Linked DNA regions of Homo sapiens: region 2 is linked to region 1. The links are contacts of gene promoters, found by promoter capture Hi-C in blood cells and fetal thymus (Javierre and others, 2016). All regions are on one chromosome and are shown on one strand. The core of a region is centred on a gene start or on the middle of the fragment in contact, and the rest is flanking DNA. Distances in the headings are between cores, read along the strand shown. Region 1 holds the start of RARRES1 (retinoic acid receptor responder 1). Region 2 overlaps RSRC1 (arginine and serine rich coiled-coil 1).

What was found. Contacts are between HindIII fragments. The CHiCAGO score rates a contact against its expected background, and 5 or more counts as called.
Region 2: a fragment that was not itself captured here is called in contact with the fragment with the promoter of RARRES1 in region 1 in 1 of 17 cell types (megakaryocytes); the score reaches 5.0 in megakaryocytes.

The regions. Positions count from the first base shown.
Region 1 is chr3:158,727,792-158,734,989 of GRCh38, reverse strand. It overlaps RARRES1 (retinoic acid receptor responder 1), which reads left to right and starts at 2,533. Exons shown (of 6, transcript NM_206963.2): 1 at 2,533-2,850. The coding sequence starts at 2,575. It overlaps LOC100287290 (a long non-coding RNA gene), which reads right to left and starts at 2,629. Exons shown (of 5, transcript NR_171782.1): 1 at 2,462-2,629; 2 at 953-1,039. RefSeq lists an enhancer at 2,081-2,581 and silencers at 2,659-2,718, 5,444-5,622. The HindIII fragment of the contact is 14,465 bases long and covers 1-7,198 here.
Region 2 is chr3:158,541,628-158,548,492 of GRCh38, reverse strand. RSRC1 (arginine and serine rich coiled-coil 1) reads right to left here. Exons shown (of 10, transcript NM_001271838.2): 9 at 5,006-5,158; 10 at 2,763-4,310. The coding sequence ends at 4,218. It overlaps MLF1-DT (MLF1 divergent transcript), which reads left to right. Exons shown (of 5, transcript NR_104147.1): 5 at 2,916-3,273. Among named protein-coding and RNA genes, the nearest start is that of UC.134, 18 kb to the right of the region's middle. RefSeq lists a silencer at 5,916-6,133. The HindIII fragment of the contact is 3,134 bases long and covers 2,440-5,573 here.

The DNA of each region.
Region 1 (7,198 bases), core at 1,284-3,783:
TTGGAGGGTGCTATAGTTTGGGTGTTTTTGTCCCCTCCAAAATTCATGTTGAAACTCAATTCCCAGTGCAAGAATGTTGGGAGGTGGGGCCTAGAGTGAGGTGTTTAGGTCATAAGAGTGGGTACTCTCTCACTCTTCCAGCATGTGAGGACACAGCGTTCCTCCCCTTCATAGGATGAAGCACGCAAAGCCCCATTTTGGAAGCAGAGACAGAGCTAAGACCCCACCAGACACCAAGCCTGTTGGTGCCTGGATCTTGGACTTCCAACCTCCAGAACTGTGAGAAACAGATATCTGTTCTTTATAAATTACCCAGTCTCAGGTATTCTATTATTGCAGCACAAAACAAACTATGGGGAGATGACTGGGTTCTGGGAGGTGATTACCTGTGCTAGGCTTGCCTCTGAGGGCAAGAAACAGCAACTCCAGCTTCAGGGAAGTGAAATAATAAGAAATAAACTCCAGGATCCGCTGATTCCTGTGTTCAACAATGCCATCAGGAACCCAGGGCCCTCCCCTCTCTCTGCTCTGCCACTCTTGAAATGGGCTTCATTCTCAGGCAGCCAGCAAGACAGAGGCATGCTTCTGGGCAGCACAGCCAGACCTAACTGGGGCCTATCGAGGGCCTGCACTCTCCCCCTTGGCTTCTCCCTCCAGCTGGATTTTCTTGCTTTTCTTCAAACATGCCAGATAGGCTCCTGCCCTAGCCTCTGCACTTGCGTTCCCTCTGCCTACAGTGCTTTTGCATACATGTCCACTTGGCTCTGCCTCCTTCAGGTCCTCACCCAAATATTACCTCCCGAGAGAGGCCTGCCCTGACCACACCTTTTAAGATTAACCACCTCCCAACTCCCCATTTCTTTTTCTGGCTTAATTTTTCTCCCTGGCATGTAACTTCATCCAATATAGCACACATTCCCTTGGCCTCACTGAGTGTCCGGGCCCCACTTGCCTAGAAGGTGTGCTCCAGGAAGGCAGAGATGTTTAAGATTGTTCACCCTCATTCCCCCAGGGCCTGGCACAGGTGTTTCACAATTATCTGCAGAAGGAAGGAAAGACAGACAAGGGACAGACAACAGCCAGAGGAAGAAGTGCAGTAAGACAGGATCTTTCCAGAGATGGCACCACGCCCATCAACCCACAGGCTTTGCTCACCATGCAGAACTGGCACATGCCCACTCTCAACCACCCACTGGCAAAAAGAGATTTCCTTTAGCCCCACAATGGCACTGGGGTCCACGTTTGGTGCAGGGGTAGACCCCTGAACAAAATGCAGGATGGAGAAATGGATGTTGGGAGTGCCTAGCAGTACCAGTTCTCCTCTCTCAGCCCTGGTTCTCCAGGACTTTTTCTCTTGCCTACGGTTTAAAAACAATGGCTATCTTAGCCCTTCACTGCCACCTGTCTAAAAAGAGTTGCCGCCGGGTACCGTGGCTCACGCCTGTAATCCCAGCACTTTGGGAGGCCCAGGCGGGCGGCTCACGAGGTCAGGAGTTTGAGACCAGCCTGACCAACATGGTGAAACCCCGTCTTTACTAAAAATACAAAAATTAGCCGGGCATGGTGGCTGTAGTCCCAGCTACTCGGGAGGCTGAGGTAGAATTGCTTGAACCTGGGAGGCGGAGGTTGCAGTGAGCCAAGATCGTGCCACTGCACTCCAGCCTGGGAGACAGAGCAAGACATGGTCTCAAAAAAAAAAAAAAAAAAAAGAGTTGCCAACACTTGCTGCCTCCATTCCCTGAAGCCCCATCCATGCCTCACCCCGCTGGAATCCGACTTCCATCCCCGGCCTTTAAATCTGCCTCGCACAGTGGTTATCAATGTATCAATGACCTACTTGCTTCTGAGACAAATGGGACTCTCAGGCCTTATCTTACCCTGCCTTGCTGCCCACTCCTCCCTCCTCGGCGCCTCTTCTGGGCAGGACCGGCAGGTGTTCAGGCCCGTCCCCAGCCCCTGGCTCCGGCGTCCCGGGCTCCCTGCCGGCATCCACCTTCACCTCCTCCCCAGCCCCAGCCCTCTGGCGACTTCTCCCACCTCCACAGTGGCTGTGCCACGAGGAGCCCCATCAATGCCCGCTGCGGCCTGCCCCTTTCTCCGCCGTCCCCTTTCACCTGCTGGGAAATCACAGCCCTAATGCTTGGAGAATCCAAGCAGTTTCCCTCTAAAACCCCAGGGTTGCGAAACCGCAGGGGAAACGCCAAGTCCCTGAGCTGGGCTAGGGACGCGGTACGAGGTAGCACGGGCGGGCCGCGATTCCTCGGGGAGGCGTCCCCATTGTCCCCCCAACCCCGACCCTCTCCCGCCGCGGCCTGGGCCAGAAGCACCCGGCCCTGCGCTGCGGAGGCGATGCCGCATCCTAGCACTAAGCCCGGGCAGCGGGGAGGGGCAGAGAGAACCCAGGGGCTGCGGGAAACGTGGAAAAGGAGTGGCCCCATGGGGACCCGGGCTCGCTACAGACCTTCGCCCTGGGGGCGGAGGGGAGGGGCCCACCACGGCCTTATTTCCGCGAGCGCCGGCACTGCCCGCTCCGAGCCCGTGTCTGTCGGGTGCCGAGCCAACTTTCCTGCGTCCATGCAGCCCCGCCGGCAACGGCTGCCTGCTCCCTGGTCCGGGCCCAGGGGCCCGCGCCCCACCGCCCCGCTGCTCGCGCTGCTGCTGTTGCTCGCCCCGGTGGCGGCGCCCGCGGGGTCCGGGGACCCCGACGACCCTGGGCAGCCTCAGGATGCTGGGGTCCCGCGCAGGCTCCTGCAGCAGGCGGCGCGCGCGGCGCTTCACTTCTTCAACTTCCGGTCCGGCTCGCCCAGCGCGCTACGAGTGCTGGCCGAGGTGCAGGAGGGCCGCGCGTGGGTGAGTGCGGAGCGACGCGCCGGGGCACGCGCCTGCCTGTCCGCGCACGGCGCTGGGAGGTGACACCTGGGTACGCGCGCCTGCCGGCCCAACGGATGGTCCGCCAGGGAAGGTGCAGTGCGCACGACGCCCGGGGAGATCCCAGCTGGGCCTGGCGCCCCTGAAGTATCCCAGGGCGTGGAAGGGGCCCCTTCGGTGCACAGCGTCTGCAGAAATCTGGCTCGTTCCTTCCAGCATTTATGAGGTCATAGGTTTTTCACAGGGCAGCGCTCTTGACTGCTCCCACACCTGGGAAAGAGATGCTTTGGGAAATTGAGGAACAGGCTGAAAGGGCAACATTTAATTTTGTCCGGAGGTACCCAGAGTTGGTTGCTATGGGGGTGCTTACTGTGCCTGCGCCCTACTAGTGGCTGCAGCCAAAGTTTTGGGCGGGATTTCCAAAATCTAAGCCAGTAGCCATACCATACCGCGGACGACTGTCTCTTGTTAATTGCAGTCCACCACGCTAGGGCTTCGGGGTAATGTGGTTGGAATTTACACGTAGGCCTGGGCAGAAACCTGCTAATGCTGGCGTCTGATTTGATCTAATTAGAAGTGAGTGAATCCGAGCCCAGTGTTCTATATGAACCGAATGAATGAGAACTTTGCAACCCGTTGTTTGGTTGCTGATTTCAAGGCATTGACTGTAGGAATTGTCTCGTATGTGTGAAGCTACTTTGCGTTCTTCATCCTATAGATTACAAAAGTTACAGAACTACACTAAGTCTGTCCCAAAAGCAAAGTTGCTCCTTCTACAACCTCCAGATATTCCACAAAGCCTGCAGACACACGGCCTCAAAGAATCTGGAATTGAGTATCGCATGTATTTAATAAATAGGTCGAGTTTTAAAGTGTAGCAGCAGGATTTTCATTTAACAGTGCCAAACGCCTGGAAGCAAACACCATTGGAAAGTCCTTCAAGAAGCTCAGCCTCGGTTCTTCAAAACTTATTCCTGTACCCGGCACGGCTGTATTTATTGAATGATTAAATCAAATTGTTCCTAGAAAAAGGCAACCTGGCCAGGCACGGTGGCTCACGCCTGTAATCCCAGCACTTTGGGAGGCCGAGACAGGTGGATCACCTGAGGTCGGGAGTTCGAGACCAGCCTGACCAACATGGAGAAACCCTGTCTCTACTAAAAATACAAAATTAGCTGGGTGTGGTGGCGCATGCCTGTAATCCCAGCTACTTGGGAGGCTGAGGCAGGAGAATCGCTTGAACTTGGGAGGCGGAGGTTGCGGTGAGCCGAGATTGCGCCACTGCACTCCAGCCTGGGTAACAAGAGCAAAACTCCCTCTCAAAATAAAATAAATAAAATAAAATAAAATAATAAAGAAAAAGGCAACCTGCTGGGGCATGGTGGCTCACGCCTGTAATCTCAGCACTTTGGGAGGCCGAGGTGGGCAAATCGCTTGAGCTCAGGAGTTGTAGACCAGTCTGGGTAACATGGCAAAGTACCATCTCTGCCAAAAATAAAAAAAATTAAAAATTAAAAAAAAATTAGCCGATGTGGTGGCGTGGGCCTGTGGTCCCAGCTACTCAGGAGGCTGAGATGGGAGGATTGCTTGAGCCCAGGACCCCAGGACCTGGAGGTTGCAGTGAGCAGAGAATGTGCCACTGCCCTCCAGCCTAGGCAACAGAGTGAGACCCTATGGGGAAAAAAAAGAGAGAGAAAGAGAGAGAGGAAGGAAGGAAGGAAGGAAGGAAGGAAGGAAGGAAGGAAGGAAGGAAGGAGCAACCTATTCTTGTCACCTGTCTTTGTTTTTTTTTTTTTTTTTTTGAGACAGAGTCTTGCTCTGTTGCCCAGGCTGGAGTGCAGCGCTGCGATCTCGGCTTACTGCAACCTCCGCCTACCAGGTTCAAGCGATTCTCCTGCCTCAGCCTCCTGAGTAGCTGGGATTACAGGCACGTGCCACCACGCCTGGCTAAGTTTTCTATTTCTAGTAGAGACAGGGTTTCACCATGTTGGGCAGGCTGTTCTCGAACTCCTGACCTCGTGATCTGGCCGCCTGGGTCTCCCAAAGTGCTGGGATTACAGGCATGAGCCACCGTGCCGGGCCATCTTGTCACCTGTCTTAACAATCCTTGCTGTCTGAGATACAAAAAAGTTCAGTTTTCCTAGTCCAACAGAGCAGTGAGATAACGGACCTTGAGAACTTTCTATCAAGGTAGAAGAGTAGTAGCCAATGCCCAGAGCCTAAAGAAGGGGCGTCTAAGGATTTGCTCCCTGGTTACCAGGGGCAGGATTCCCTGCAGAAAACCAAGCTCACTCAGATTTCTAAGGTACACCAGTTTTCAATCCCAGAGATTTTTTTTCCCCTTCCAAACCATTTTAAAAAGGAATAATAGGCTGGGCGCGGTGGCTCACGCCTGTAATCTCAGCACTTTGGGAGGCCGAGGTGGGCAGATTACAAGGTCAGGAGTTCAAGACCAGCCTGGCCAAGATAGTGAAACCCCTTCTCTACTAAAAATACAAAAAGAAATTAGCCGGGCATGGTGGCAGGCACCTGTAATCCCAGCTACTCGGGAGGCTGAGATAGAGAATTGCTTGAACCCGGGAGGCAGAGGTTGCAGTGAGCCAAGATGGTGCCACTGCACTCCAGCCTGGGCAACAGAGCGAGACTCCGTCTCAAATAAATAAATAAATAAATAAAGGAATAATAAAATAACTTGCATTATCATGCACTTAGTCACCCCCTTGAAAATAAAATAAGATATTTGACATCCTTCATAAAATAATCAAACTAGCTCTCAAAACCCGAGTGAATAAAGTAAAAATTCCCAGCCCCTGCATTGCTCCAGTGAGGATGCAGGGGCTGGGAATTTTATATAAGTTACATAAATCTTAAAGAGGTCTTAAACATCATTTAGTCCAATGGCTTTGGGAAAGGTTATTTAAGTCTTTTCTGGCTATTTCCCTGTTTGGAATGGAAATAATTCATGTTCTGCCAACAATGTCAGGTGGTCTAAGGAGTCATATAAGATATGAGTGCCAATTAGAAAGTATAAAAATGTGAGTTCAGGGGTAGTCTGTTCATCCATTAGCTATGTATTGAATGCTTACTCTGTGCCAGGAACTGGGCTAGAAGTGTGGCCTAATTCATATTTAGCATAGGGTCATTAGGGAAGGCCTCTTTGAGATTCCCTCAGTTTTGAAGCACTCCACTGCCTGAGTGAAGAGTGTAGACACACCTACATGGAGCTTTCAGTGTAGTCATAAGAAATTCCTGCCTCCATTATAAGAGCAGTCATAGCACTGGGGAGAAGTAAAACATGGGCCAGGCGCAGTGGCTCTCGCCTGTAATCCCAGCACTTTGGGAGGTTGAGGCAAGCAGATCACTTGAGGTCAGGAGTTCAAGACCAGCCTGGCCAACATGGTGAAACCCCATCTCTACTAAAAGTACAAAAATTAGCCAGGCATGGTGGTGCGTGTCTATAATCCCAGCTACACAGGAGGCTGAGGCATGAGAATCACTTGAACCCGGGAGGCAGAGGTTGCAGTGAGCAAAGATCATGCCACTGCACTCCAGCCTGGGTGACAGAGCGAGAATCTGTCTCAAAAACCAAAAAAAAAAAAAAAAAAGAAAGAAAAAGAAACCACGATTGATCCCTCCAAACTCAGGTTTGCACTCTACCCAACCAGTGCATTGTTGGACTGAGTGCTCAGCTGCTGCACAATGTCTATCATCCATCCAGAACTGACCCTGAGGGGCGAGCAGGTAGCCAGGTAAGGAAGAGAAGTGTAGTTCATGGGTATCCCTCCCAATTCTAGGGGTCACTGCATTCCTTTGTAAGATGAGAGGCTGAGATGAAGTCAGGGTTTTTCAAACTAAGGGCTCACTAGGGTTATAAAGCCAATTTAGTGTGGGATCCGGTTTTTTTTTTTTTTAAACGAAATAGTATAGACTACAAACGATTAGAGTGTATTGCGAAAGCAAGGGTAAGTAGTGTCTCCAAATGTGTTTCAGATATATATGTATGACCTAGGTCATAATGAGAAATTCAGTTCTTGCTGTGGGCTGCAGCTTTAAAAAGTTTTGAAAGCCTTTAGACTAAATGATGTTTAAGACCTCTTCTCGCGCTGAAATTCTTTGATTCTGTGAGCTGTTGGCGCGTCAAGTTATCTTTCATTTTAAAAATACTGTTGCCCTCTGGTGGTGAAATGCAGCAATAGCTGTGGTAGTAAATTCAAGGAAGAACTAAGTGCTAGCTGGAGGTGGGTGGAGTGGAGTGGAGGAAGTGTTGTTTTGTTTTGTTGCTAATTGTAGGCGAAATCACAGACCACGATTTGTGTTCCCTCACTGCCCC
Region 2 (6,865 bases), core at 2,757-5,256, 190 kb after region 1:
CTCACCAAATAGAGTTGAATATATTAATCAATGTCCATCCCTATGATAAAAGGTTAAGATAATTACAGAATTTACAGTGTTCTTTCTTATATCCATTTGTATTCCTGCTGTGCTCTACTGACTCAAATGTTTTCTTATGAAGAGTACTTACTTTTCCATTATTCTATAAAGGAGTTCCAAAGAGTAAGGCTTACAGGAGGACATTAAAAAATTGTGCAAATAATCCAAGCATTTTATCAGTTGAGTAATGGCCAAGAGTTTATTTAAAATCTCTTGTAATACTCACAAGGAATTTTGGGGTAGGGAAAGGAGGAAAGCAAAGAGTAACATGGGTGCAAGCCTTTGATATAAACTCATCTAGAGTTTAGTGGCTGAAAATGTCCTATGTCTTATTTCATTTCTAGTTTTTTTTTTACTATCTTATTTGCTTAAAGATTTTCACTTGATGCACAAATCAAAGGAAAATCTGGGGAGGGACCTAACCACAGGCAAATGAATTGTGTCTTTTAGTTCCCAAATGATGCTTTCTATAACAGTACAGAGTAGAAAAACAGAGAGTAATGGAACACACAGTGGTCTACATGGTTGTGCAAACCCTTACTGGCAGATGCAGTTCTTTTTTAGCGGCATTGAAAGTCTCTTTTCAGCTCCATTGCAGAATCTGTCGTCTTGGCTGACAAATGGCAGTAGGCAAGATTGTTGATGCTTGTGGCCAAATGAAGACTTATCTTATTCAGCTTATTCTCCACAAAAAGAAAGAAATAGAGAGTCAGAGGGGTACTAGGAACCTGAAATTTTGCCTAGATTTTTGATAAGATTGACTGAGCAGGGCCACTTGGGTATTTCATGAGAGGTACTCTGTCCTAGGTTAAAACTGCAGTAGTTCCCAGCCTTCTAGAATAGCTATCAGGAAGATATAAGTGGGTGACTGAGAGTTCCTATGGCTCCAGCTTTCTTGTCCTTCAAGACTCAGTTTGATTGATTTCTTCCATGAAGACTTCCTTAATTTTCTAACTTACAGTAATTTCTCTCTTCTTTGCAACCAAGTCCTCTCCTCTGCCACTAAGTACTATATCTCTGACATCATTTACATGTCTGGGCTTCACAACTAAGCCTCTTGAGGGCAGGATCTCTACTGGATTCAGGTATGCATCCCCCAAGCACATCTTACTGTGCCCAGCATGAACTAGGTACTCAAAATGATATTCATGAATAAATGGGTAAATCTGACTGTAAAGAAGAACTGAGATTTCTCAAATAAGTAGATGGTAGGTCACTAATTGCAGAGTAAGTAAGGTTTCTTACGACCTTGGCAGGGAAGAAGAGCAGGGAAGGCTGAGGAAATCGCTGGAACGGCAACTATTGACCATGGCAGCTCAAGCACACACATAAACACATTCAAGTTGGAGTGTAGCAACTATTTGTTCCACATTTCACTAAGATGTCTATCATGTCAAATGTTCCCTTGGCATAAATAGCAGAAGTTTCTATGAAGGGCTTTCTTTTATGTCATTTTACTGAAAAATCAAAGTAGGCAGGTCTGCAATTAGTATCCTCATTTCACATGTTAGGATGCTGAAGCAAAGGAGGTGAATGATTCAAAGTATTCTGTGCTCATATCTTTAGCTCTTTGACTCCTCATAACTAGAGAGTGCCAGGAAAAATGCTCTTATTTCATTTTCCTTGAGAATATACTTACTTGTCAGAAATGAAAACTCAACCTGTATTATCAGTACCCATCATTTTGTAAGAAATCAATGTTTCGTAAAACACTTAAGGTCTCATGTATGTCCAAATTATTATCATTAATCAAGTGACATGAAAGGAATTATTCTGTTTTATAGACTCACCATATAAGGATATTAAAGAAGGCTAGCTTGAATTAGGCAATATGTTTGATCATGTTCTATGCAGTCCTTTTTATTAAATTTGATTTGGCTTGTGTGGTAATATTGTGGTCTTTGATAGGAATGCAGGTAAACGAAGTTAATAATATATAAAAATGAATCATGTTGAAAACTAGGGAGGAAGGAAGTAGTTACCGAATTCCTGTAGGGACCATAGTTTAGTTCATTAAAAAAATTTGATTTTCGGCCAGGCATGGTGGCTCATGCCTGTAATCCCAGCACTTTGGGAGGCCGAGGTGGGTGGATCATGAGGTCAAGAGATCGAGACCATCCGGGCTAACACGGTGAAACCCCGTCTCTACTAAAAATACACACACAAAAAATTAGCTGGGCATGGTGGCAGGCGCCTGTAGTCCCAGCTACTCAGGAGGCTGAGGCAGGAGAATGGCATGAACCTGGGAGGCGGAGCTTGCAGTGAGCCGAGATCGCACCAATGCACTCCAGCCTGGATGACAGAGTAAGACTCTGTCTCAAACCACCGCCCTCCCCCCCAAAAAAAACCCCAAAAAACAATTCTGTCACAGTTCAAGCTTCTGTATTTGGGGTACTTGCCACAGAGGAACACTGGTATTAAATATAATTGAAGTAGACCAGATTTTCACTGTTTTATAGATAAGGAAGATCAGGGATATTGAGAAAACTGCCTAGCCCAGGTCCTCTGGAGAATCATTAGTGGCCCAAATGATAACCCATATTCTTGCCCAGACCACTAACATATACTTTCCAATAGGGTGATAGTACTTCTATAGTTTATAAGTTATACAAAGTATGAAATAAAAATATTTCATAAACTGTAACCCCTTTTTAAGTCACTAAAATTGTATACATCTATGTTAAAAACCACACAAATCTCGGTTCATTTGGGGCACTTTTATTTACAGCCAAGGAAAAAAGAAAACTAGCATCTATTTAGAATGGGAAAGCATGTTTGTATGAAAACAAATATTTCATCATCACTTATTTTCTATACTGTTTGCAACTAAGTTTTACATTTTTCATTTTCAACAGAGATTTGAATTTTAATGTCCCAGAAATATAAAGAAGATGGCATTAAAATGTCCTATATGTTGGCAGTCCTACCCTGAAGACTTTTTTTGCTTATCTTTTGTTCTGAGCTACAGTCTTCGCAGAGACTAAATTAGTGACTGGACAACAGAAGAAAATAGACCATCCTGGCTAAAATGGTGAAACCCCATCTCTACTAAAAACACAAAAAATTAGCTGGGCATGTTAGCGGGTGCCTGTAGTCCCAGCTACTCGGGAGGCTGAGGCAAGAAAATGGCGTGAACCTGGGAGGCGGAGCTTGCAGTGAGCTGAGATCGCGCCACTGCACTCCAGCATGGGGGATAGAGCGAGACTCCGTCTCAAAAAAAAAAAAAAAAAAAAAAAAAAGAAAATAGAAACGGGAAATATTCATGTCAGCTGTTAAAAACCAGTTTTGTAAAGCAAGGCCTAAAAGTCCTATCTCTGGCATGTTTAGTATGGAACGTATAGTTGATTGTCATTCAGCTACTAGAGAAAGGTATTCTACAATGGCAGATAGCCTTATCAAAACAATTAGCCGGCTTTCTCCACAGGGAATAGCAGTGGGGTAAGTAAGACTGAAGTGAGAGCTCTTATCAGTTTTCTCAGAAATGATTTCTCCATCATAGGTATTTGGCCAACTGGTTAGGTCTAGCATGAACATGTGATTTCTAAAACAATGAGCTGAGATCTGCTAACATGTTGTAAAGGAGCATCTAGTAGAAGCTGATCTCTAAGCAAAATCACCAATTTATTTAAGTTTCAAAAATTTTTTTTCCATAAATATGTTCTTTAACATGCACATTCTGCTTACATTGTTTAGGGTGCTTTTTATTGTGCCTAAAAATTTGCAATATGGTGAAATAAAATATTTAAAAATGGTTGAATACCATACGGAAGATGAAATCTCATATTTATAGCATGTAATTCAATTCTCATGTATGCATAATTAATCAAAATTGTGTCTTTAAATGACATCTTGACATTTTTTGAATTGCACTAAGAAACACTAGTGTCTACCATTCATTTTAACAGACTTATTTATGTTTAGCTTTATTAACAGTATAACATTTTCATGCAATCTTAAATTTTGTTTTAATTTTTACAATGTTTGATTTAATTCAAATTAACAAATATTCAAGCCTACATGAGAGACAAATGAAATGAGACTACCTTTATATATAATCAGCAAAATTCTTTTTAAGAGTAAAAAGTTAATATTGGGATTTAAAAACCTAAATTTCCAATGTTACTGCTGACAATCCAATCCAACTATATGTATATTACTTAGGCCACAGGACTGCCCATTAGTCTTTCTTGTCGGAGAGCAATTAATCTCTTGAACCATTTTTCCTCAGCATCAGCTTTCTCGATAAATAACTGAAATAAGAAAAGAAAAAGAAAAAATGTTACTGTCTCCCAATAACTTGAATTTGACCTAAAATGACAGAACTCACCTTTGTAGAATATATCTCTCAACACAAGATTTGGATACTGTTTAACTCTTGATGACCTCTTAATTGATGACTATCTATTTGGAATTAGTAATGCTCAGAAATTCTTGGAGTAAAAGAACTACTAGTATCAACATCATTGCTTAACAATTTTGTACCTTATATTTGTGAAGTTTATTTCCTATAACTTTTCCAAAACAGCAGAATTACAACATTTCATGGAAGACAGCAAAGTATGATGTTAGTGATGTGCTCACTGATAATGAACAAAGTAGAGCTCAGAAATGGAACTTTTAGTGCTAGATTTTTAAACAAACACTTCTCATGGTGCTGATCAATTCAGCTAAAAAAAAAAAAAAGGAAAAAATGCTTCTCTTTGTCTATTTTTCTTAACCATAGACAGAATACTTCTACAGGTTAGGCAACATGAGTTGGACCCTACTGTATTCAAATATAGATAACAGTTCTAAAGGCCTGGGGGCCAGATGCCTATTTTTAGCAAGGGAATATGAACCTGTTTCCTCCAATGGTCTCCTTGGTGTTAGCACAAAAGGATAACAGATTGAAATAATTTCAGTAAATTAGACTTCAACTGACATTCGTAAAGTTTAAGGATATTACATTTGGATGGGCCAGGGAATTGTCATCTTGGTACTTGATAGCAGTAGGGATGCTGGTAGGATCTATTTCTTTTTCAGTACTGGGTGGATCAGCAACTGCTGATGCTGGTCCTGATGTTGAAGTTGCTTGTTTCACTTCACTAGGTTCCACTGACTGAAAGAAACAACACATATTAATTTCAACACAATACACAATTAGAGTTTTACTTCAAAAATATTTCTGATTTTGAATAACAACTGTTCAATTAGTCTCCTTTGAGATGATACCCATCTCCAAAAAGGCCCTACTTTTTGTATTTGTTTGTTTTAGAAATACAGTTATTTTATTTTTATATTTGTTTGTTTAGGAATAACTATATTTAGGAATATAGTTATAGATATATAGAAATAGAATATAGGAATAACTATATTGTATTTGTTTTAGGAATAACAAATAGAAAAATGCTGAGAAAATGTCAATCATTTCTTATGATAAGCACATTTTTCTTAAGAAATTGGTACTTACGTGCCTATACTATTGAAATATACATATATTTCATATATCTAAATTCTATTAATCAAAACAAGCTTACAACAAATATCCAACATTTAGTTGGCCAATTTAGGTATGAAAAGTAAATTCAAAGGTTATCTTTAGAAAAATAGCCTTATTGAGTTATAGAATTCATATACCATACAATTTACCCTTTTAAAGTACATAATTCAATGGCTTTTCACATATCCATGGAGTTGTGCAATTATTACCAGAATCAACTTTAGAACATTTTCATCATCCCCCACAAAACCTCATACCATTAGCAATCATTCCCCATTCCTTCCAACCTTTCCATCCTAGGTAACAATTAATCTTCTTTCTCTATGGATTTGCCTATTCTAGACATTTCAGATAAAAGGAATCATACAATATGTGGTCTTTCATGACTGGTTCTTTCATTTAGCATAATTTTTTCTTTTGAGACAGAGTCTTACTCTGTCACCCAGGTGGGAGTGCAGTGGCACAATCTTGGCTCACTGCAACCTCTACCTCCTAGGTTCAAGTGATTCTCCTGCTTCAGCCTCCCGAGTATCTGGGATTACAGGTGCACACCACCATGCACACTCGGCTAATTTTTGTATTTTCAGTAGAGACGGTGTCTTGCCATGTTGGCCAGGGTGATCTCGAACTCCTGTCCTCAAGTGATCAGCCCGCCTTGGCCTCCCAAAGTGCTAGGATTACAGGCGTGAGCCACCGTGCCCAGCCACATAATGTTTTTAAGGTTCATCCATGTTGCAGCATGTATCAGTACTTCATTATTCTTTATTGCTAAATAATGTCCCATTGTATGGATCTACCACATTTTATTTATCCATTCATCAGTTGATGAACTCAAAGGTTGTCTCGGAGCTACTTAAAATATTAAAATATATATATAAAAGTTTGAAAAAAAGGTACGATGTATCTTTGGCAAAAAATAAAACTCTAGGATTTCTTATACCATCATGCAAACCATAGACTCCCAATTTATTCCACCTTTACTGAGTATTCACCAGGTGCGATACACTGTACCAAGTGCTGGGGATACAACTAATAAATCATTGTTTCTGCCTTGAAGGAGCCAGCAGAGTAGTGCTTACTTAGTTACATTTCAGTAGCTTCTTCCCTAAGAAAGAAGGCCAAGGAGTGACTGATTAGCAGTAAGGTTACAGGGATAATATGAAATGGATTAGATCAGAAGCTGAAATTAAAAAGTAAAATTAAAAAAAAACAAGATGAATAGGAGATTGTTATGTAGCCTTTTTTATACCCATTTGTTCCACACCTATTGTTTTTCAATTTCCATTTATTTTAACTTATCTATAATTCTGAACATTTCACTTCTCT